Linked DNA regions of Homo sapiens: region 1 is linked to region 2. The links are contacts of gene promoters, found by promoter capture Hi-C in blood cells and fetal thymus (Javierre and others, 2016). All regions are on one chromosome and are shown on one strand. The core of a region is centred on a gene start or on the middle of the fragment in contact, and the rest is flanking DNA. Distances in the headings are between cores, read along the strand shown.

Region 1 (3,726 bases), core at 891-3,390, 72 kb after region 2:
TCAGGAGATCGAGACCATCCTGGCTAACACGGTGAAACCCCACCTCTACTAAAAATACAAAAAATGAGCCGGGCGTGGTGGTGGGCGCCTGTAGTCCCAGCTACTCAGGAGCCTGAGGCAGGAGAATGGTGTGAACCTGGGAGGCGGGGCTTGCAGTGAGCAGAGATCGTGCCACTGCACTCCAGTCTTGGGCAACAGAGCAAGACTCAGTCTCAAAAAAAAAAAAAAAAAAAAAAGAAAGAAATTGGCAGGTGAGGTGGCTCACGCCCCTGTAATCCTGGCACTTTGGGAGGCTGAGGTGGGCGGATCACAAGGTCAGGAGATCAAGGCCATCCTGGCTAACACGGTGAAACCCTGTCTCGACTAAAAATACGAAAAATTAGCTGGGTGTGTGGCATGCACCTGTAGTCCCAGCTACTTGGGAGGCTGAGGCAGGAGAATCGCTTGAACCCGGGAGGTGGAGGTTGTAGTGAGCCGAGATCGCACCACTGCACTCCAGCCTGGTGACAGAGGGAGACTCTGTCTCAAAAAACAAAAAAAAGAAGACAGCCGCCCCGTCCGGGAGGGAGGCGGGGTCCAGCCCCCGGCCGGCCAGCCGCCCCATCAGGGAGGGAGGGGGGGACAGCCCCCGCCCGGCCAGCCGCCCCGTCCGGGAGGTTGGGGGCGCCTCCGCCCGGCCGCCGCCCCGTTGGGAGGTGGGGGGCGCCTCTGCCCGGCCACCCCTTCTGGGAAGTGAGGAGCCCCTCTGCCTGGCGGCCACCCCATCTGGGAGGTGTACCCAACAGCTCATTGAGAACGGGCCATGATGACGATGGTGGTTTTGTGGAATAGAAAAGGGGGAAATGCGGGGAAAAGATAGAGAAATCAGATTGTTGCTGTGTCTGTGTAGAAAGAAGTAGACATAGGAGACTCCATTTTGTTCCGTACTAAGAAAAATTCTTCTGCCTTGGGATGCTGTTGATCTATGACCTTACCCCCAACCCTGTGCTCTCTGAAACATGTGCTGTGTCCACTCAGGGTTAAATGGATTAAGGGCGGTGCAAGATGTGCTTTGTTAAACAGATGCTCGAAGGCAGCATGCTCGTTAAGAGTCATCACCACTCCCTAATCTCAAGTACCCAGGGACACAAACACTGCGGAAGGCCGCAGGGTCCTCTGCCTAGGAAAACCAGAGACCTTTGTTCACTTGTTTATCTGCTGACCTTCCCTCCACTATTGTCCTATAACCCTGCCAAATCCCCCTCTGCGAGAAACACCCAAGAATGATCAATTAAAAATAAATAAATAAATAAATAAAAGAAGACATACATGTGGACAACAAACATATGAATAAAAGCTCAACATCACTCATCATTAGAGAAATGCAAATCAAAACCACAATGAGATACCATCTCACACAAGTCAGAATGGCTGTTATTAAAAAGTCAAAAAATAACAGACGCTGGAAAGGTTGTAGAGTAAAAGGAACGCTTATACACTGTTGGCGGGAGTGTAAATTTGTTCAACCAAAGTGGAAGACAGTGTGGTGTTTCCTCAAAGACCTAAAGACAGAACTACCATTCGACCCAGCAATCCCATTACTGGTTATATACCCAAAGGAATATAAGTTGTTCTATTATAATGATATGGTGTGGCTTTTTGTCCCCACCCAAATTTCATCTTTTTTTTTTTTGGGACAGAATCTCCCTCTGTTGCCCAGGCTGGAGTACAGTGGTGCGATCTTGGCCTACTTCAACCTCTGCCTCCCGGGTTCAGCGATTCTCGTGCCTCAGTCTCCTGGGTAGCTGGGATTACAGGCGCTCACCATCATGCCTTGCTAAGTTTTGTATTTTTAGTAGAGACGGGGTTTCACCATGTTGGCCAGGATGGTCGTGATCTCCTGACCTCGTGATCCGCCTGCCTCAGCCTCCCAAAGTGCTGGGATTACAGGCGTGAGCCACCACGCCCGGCCCTTTAATCATTTTTATGAACTGAAAACCAGTGTCACTTGTCAAAAATAAATATTGAACCCAAATATAAATATAATGAAAACAAAACGATGTTGTTAAAGCTTAACTACAGACATTTCCCAACTAAAGTATGAACCTGGATCCCGGGTCTTTCTTTCCAAAGACATTAAAGACAGACTAGTGCCAAGACCGTGTCCTTGAAGTCCAATTGATTGCTGTGCTGTGGCCATGTACAGCCACCCTACTTTGGCCAGTGGTACACTTGTGTATCTCAAGCTTTGGGAAACATTGAGATAAGCAAATCGTAAACCCTGAACAAATGCCCATGGGCCTTGGGAAGAACATATTTTAGGCATCATTTCTCTCTCTCTTTTTAAAAAAATTTTTTTTTTTTTTGAGACAGAGTCTCATTCTGTCGCCCAGGCTGGAGTGCAGTGGTGCGATCTCGGCTCACTGCAACCTCCGCCTCCTGGGTTCACGTGATTCTCCTGCCTCAGCCTCCTGAGTAGCTGGGATTATAGGCTCCTGCCACTATGTCTGGCTAATTTTTTGTATTTGTAGTACAGATGAGGTTTCACTATGTTGGCCAGACTGGTCTCGAACTCCTGACCTTGTGATCCACCCGCCTCAGCCTCCTAAAGAGCTGGGATTATAGGTGTGAGCCACTGCGCCCAGCCTTTGGGCATCATTTCTGATCAAAACTCTTGAAGTGCCTAACTGCAAGTTAGCAGGCCTGGAACTGAGATGGGAAAACTGTGAGAAAGTTCTCTGCTGTTTTCACTCATGTAGCAACAAAGACAAGCTGTTGGGTGATCAAGTCTTGATTAAATCATTCATTCATTCAACATTTATTGAGCGCCTACTGTGTGCTAGGCACCGTGCTAGGCGCAGAAATACAGAGATGCATAAGATACAGTCCATGCCCTTAAGGATTCACAGTCTAGAAGGGGAGACAAACATGTAAACAAGTAAAATACAGTGTGATAAGTGCCACAAGAGAAGCATTGACAAAGTGCAGAGGTAGCCTGGAGGGGAGGGGCACAGGGGTTGCCTTCCTGGAGGAGGGGGCCTTTGAGGGGATCGTGAGAGATGAACTTGCCAGGCAGACAAGGCAGGAGGAGCAGGGGAAGGCATTCCAGTCGGAAGAAACAGCATGAGCGAAGGCACAGAGGCATGAAACTGCATGTCTTGCTTGGTGAGTGGGGAACTCTAACTAGTCTGGTGGTATTGCTAAAGTGTACTAGAGGCTGTGGCTAGAGAAGGGGGCAGAGGCCAGATCATGAGGGGAAACTGAGGGCAGGGGCATCTTGGAGGGTCACCAGAGGTGAGCAGAGCCCGAGGGCAGGCTTTGACACAGGAAAAGAGGGCTCCTGGCTGACTCAAGGTACACCTGCCTGAGGACCACAGGGTTCCTCGCTGTGGCTCCAAAGGGATCTCGACCCAAGAGTAGAGGAGCAGCAGAGCTGGAGGTGAAGCAGAGGGGTCGGGCCAGGTCTGGGACCCAGAGCTGCCATGCACTCCCGCGCTCTCACAGACTTCTGATTTCCAACCTGCACGTCAGAGCCCCCTCCTGCCAGCCGGATGGGGGCCTGGATCCAGTGGGAAATCACATGGGAATATGGCTGGCAAACTGCAAAGGGCCAGATGAGTGTCAGGTTACAGAATAAATCTTTACTAACTCAAAGAAGAAAAGGGCTGCGGATAAAACAGGAAAGGTTAGATGGAGGAAGGCGGGCAGACGGGCCTAAGAACAAGGGCCAAAATGAGAATACAGCAT
Region 2 (3,803 bases), core at 62-2,561:
TTTTTGAGACAGAGTCTCACTCTGTCACCCAGGCTGGAGTGCAATGGTGCAATTCTGGCTCACTGTCATCTCCGCCTCCTGGGTTCAAGCGATTCTCGTGCCTCAGCCTCCCGAGTAGCTGGGACTATAGGCGTGCGCGAGCACACCCAGCTAATTATGTATTTTTAGTAGAAACGGGGTTTCACTATGTTGGTCAGGCTGGTCTTGAAGTCCTGACCTCAAGTGATCCACCCCACTTGGCCTCCCAAAGTGCTGGGATTCCAAGCATGAGGCTCTGCACCTGGCCCACCATGCCTTTCTTATCTGAGCCCTGTTGTACTTGAGTTGCGGCTCTGTTGTAAGTGGGGTGCTGCCACGGCTCCTAGTTCCCAGTCGTGCAGCTCTGAGCTGGACAGGAATGTGGTGGGGCAGTGGGGGTGAAGTCCCACCCCTCAGACAAAGGACATCCTCCTGCTTCCCAGGCTCATGATAGAAGAGGGAATGGACACCCGCCAAGACCCTCCAGCCCAAAGGCTCTGCCCCAGCAGATGATGTCCCGAGAAGACAGCAGCCAGTGTGTCCTCAGAGCCTGGTCTGCAGCTAGCTCCCATTCCTAGTTCTGCTGAATGGGCCCACAGTGGCTGGGGAGGCCAATGGGGCAGCTCCGGGTAGAGGGGAGATGGGGCAGAGGTGCATGCTAGGGTGGCCCGGCATGGCCCAGGACCTAAGGCCCTGCCACCTCCAGCCCCTTGCCTCTGCCCTTGCCTCTGTGTGTGCCCATTCAATTGCTGGTGGCTGTTGCTCATATGCTAGGAGCCAGGAGGCAGGACCCGGAGGTCCCAGGAGTGTCAGAGGAATGGTGACACAAAGAAAAAAACACTTCAGATGAAGAACGCACGGGCAAAGAGATGAGCTGGTGGGGAGGGGGCTCGGGGAGTGAGGTCAGGGAGACCAACTAGTCCCGGTCTGCCCAGCACTGTCCTGGTTTTAACTCTAGAAGTTCCAGGGCAATTGGGATGGTGACACCCAAAGTGGGATGGGGCTAGCCACAGGTAGGAGACTGAGAGAGCCATTGTCTGGGGCAGGGCCTGCAAAAGTCTCTCCCTGGAGGCCCAGGGCAGACACACTGGGCTCCCAGCACTTCTCACGCTATCCAGAGTGTCAAGCCTCCCCTTCGAGCCCGTACCAAGGTGCTCCAGGAGGCCCCAAGTTGCCCGAGAAAAGCAGAGGACCCCGTCCCCTCGCACCACCTAAGGTCTCCATGTGTTCCCACCAGGTTGCCTTACCTGTCTTGGGGAGGCAGCTGCCACCTGGGAGATCTCAGGGAATTGTGGCAAGCTGGCTGCAGAAGAGCGACCTTTGTCCCCACCCCCCCTCCTCTAGGAACTGCCTTCACCATATAAGGGAAGATAGGGCCCCAGAGAGGTGAGGGGGTGGGGAGGCAGGTGCTGCCAGGTCCCTGGGAGCCCAGAGCCCTCCACAGCCTGACAATGAGAGCTGATGTGCCCCACCCTTGGCTTTTTTTTTTTTTTGAGCCTCACTCTGTCATTCAGGCTGGAGTGCAGTGGTATGAATTCGACTCACTGCAACCTCCGCCTCCCAAGTTCAAGTGATTCTCCTGCCTCAGCTTCCCAAGTAACTGGGACTACAGACATGTGCCACCATGCCTGGCTAATTTTTGTATATTTAGCAGAGACAGGGTTTCACCATGTTGGCCAGGCTGGACTTGAACTCCTGACCTCAAATGATCCACCTGCCTCGACCTCCCAAAGTGCTGGGATTACAGGTGTGAGGCCCGGCGCCCAGCCCCTCCCTTGGCTTCTGAGTGAGCAAGGGATGGGGTGCTTTTCTGCCCAGGGCCCAGGCCCTCACCACAGGCAGACAGCACTGTCCAGGTAGGGTCAGCGGCGCCTGAACCTTTCCTCCTACCAACCAAGAGAAGGAGGCTCAGCTGTCCTCCCACCTGCCCTGGGGTGAATGGTTCATGGAGAAAGAGAGGCAGGACTCTAGGGTTGCAGAAGCCCCAAACCCAGGAATGCAGGGACTTATACTCAGGGCCCCTCCAGAACAGATGGGAGGTCTCTTAGAGGTCTCCTAGAGGTCTCTTCTCAGCATGACCCTCACTTAGCAAGGGCCCCAGTGAGCACAACTGCTCCTCCTCTCCACCCTTAGGGGCACTGGCTCCACCTGGAGTGTTTTTTTTGTTTTCGTTTTTTTTGCTGAGATGGAGTCTGTCTCTGTCGCCCAGGCTGGAGTGCAGTGGCGTGATCTCATCTCACTGCATCCTCCGCCTCCTGGGTTCAAGTGATTCTCCTGCCTCAGCCTCCCGAGTAGCTGGGATTACAGCCGCACACCACCACGCCCAGCTAATTTTTGTATTTTTAGTAGAGACGGGGTTTCACCATGTCGGCCAGGCTGGTCTTGAACTCTTGACCTCGTGATCCGCCCACCTCGGCCTCCCAAAGTGCTGGGATTACAGGCGTGAGCCACTGCACCCGGCCCACCTGGAGTTTTTATGAGATGCCATAAACCAGTGCCTTTGAACTCTGTTCTGCTACCCTCTCCCAGAAGCCAAGGTTTCCATGTCTGACCCCTGACCCTAGGGGATCCATCTCACTCAGGCAGGAAAGTTGTGCAGCCAACTCCAGCGTGGATCTCGCTGAGAAACCAGCTTCACACGCAAACTCAGCACCTTGGGCAGCTGCCTCCCAGACTGCAGAAATTCTCCTATCACCTGTGAAGCCTGGTCCTTAGGAGGGTGACGTGAAGTGGGCTGGGTGAGGGCAGTACGTCCTTCTCATCACAGCCTCCCAAGAGTTCTGGAGACCAAATGTACAGTAGTCCCCCCCTTATCCAACGGGGGATACATTCCAGGACCCGCAGTGGATGCCTTAAAACCTCGGATCGTACCGAACCTGGCTGCCATCAGCTGGAGCATGTTTCTGTTCGTGTCTTCCACCCACAAATTGAAGCCCCTTCTATTTTCATTAGCACTTATCCTGCACTGTGGCTGCATTTTGCAGTTTGAGGTACACCAGCAAAATTAACACAAATTTCTGTTTCCTTCTTCACAATTTCATGAACAGAAGATGCATTCTTATCATAGATCTTAGCAACCTCAGTATATGATGTTTTTTGTTCTTTCCTTATTGAGAACTATTACCTTTTCATTTAAAGGAAACATTTTATGGCTTCTTTTTGGCACTTCCAAATTGCCAGCATCGCTACTCTTGCATTATTTAGTAAAATAAGTGTTACTTTGGGTGGGGGGTTGTCTTTATTTTTGTTTTTTGGAGATGAAGTCTCGCTCTGTCACCGAGGCTGGAGTGCAATGGCATGATCTCGGCTCACAGCAACATCTGCCTCCTGGGTTCAAGCAATTCTCCCATCTCAGCCTCCCGAGTAGCTGGACTACAGGTGCATACCACCACACCCAGCTAATTTTTCTTGTATTTTTATCAGAGACATGGTTTCACCATGTTGGCCAGGCTGGTCTCAAACTCCTAACCTCAAGTGATCCGCCCACCTAGGCCTCCCAAAGTGCTGGGATTACAGGCGTGAGCCACTGCGCCCGGCCCAATAAGGGTTACTTTGAACACAAGCCCTGCAATGCCATGACAGTGGATCTGATAGCCCACACGGCTGCTAAATGCCCATCAGGGAGCATGCAGCATGTGGAGGTAGTGGACAAAGGGATGACTCACGTTTCAGGTGGGATGGAGTGGGGCGGTGGGAGATCCCATCACGCTACTGAGAATACTGTGTAATTTAAAACTTATGAATGGTTTATTTCTAGAATTTTCCATGTAGTATTTTCAGAACAT

The links. Contacts are between HindIII fragments. The CHiCAGO score rates a contact against its expected background, and 5 or more counts as called.
Region 1: a contact is called between a fragment that was not itself captured here and the fragment with the promoter of VIL1 in region 2, in 2 of 17 cell types (monocytes and neutrophils). The highest score is 6.8, in monocytes.

What each region holds. Positions count from the first base shown.
Region 1 is chr2:218,345,835-218,349,560 of GRCh38, reverse strand. It overlaps PNKD (PNKD metallo-beta-lactamase domain containing), which reads right to left. Exons shown (of 10, transcript NM_015488.5): 10 at 2,768-3,726. The region is part of intron 2 of CATIP-AS2 (CATIP antisense RNA 2); the gene reads left to right. Among named protein-coding and RNA genes, the nearest start is that of MIR6810, 5.8 kb to the right of the region's middle. RefSeq lists an enhancer at 97-647. The HindIII fragment of the contact is 175 bases long and covers 2,053-2,227 here.
Region 2 is chr2:218,416,631-218,420,433 of GRCh38, reverse strand. It overlaps VIL1 (villin 1), which reads right to left and starts at 1,311. Exons shown (of 20, transcript NM_007127.3): 1 at 1,266-1,311. The HindIII fragment of the contact is 19,335 bases long and covers 1-3,803 here.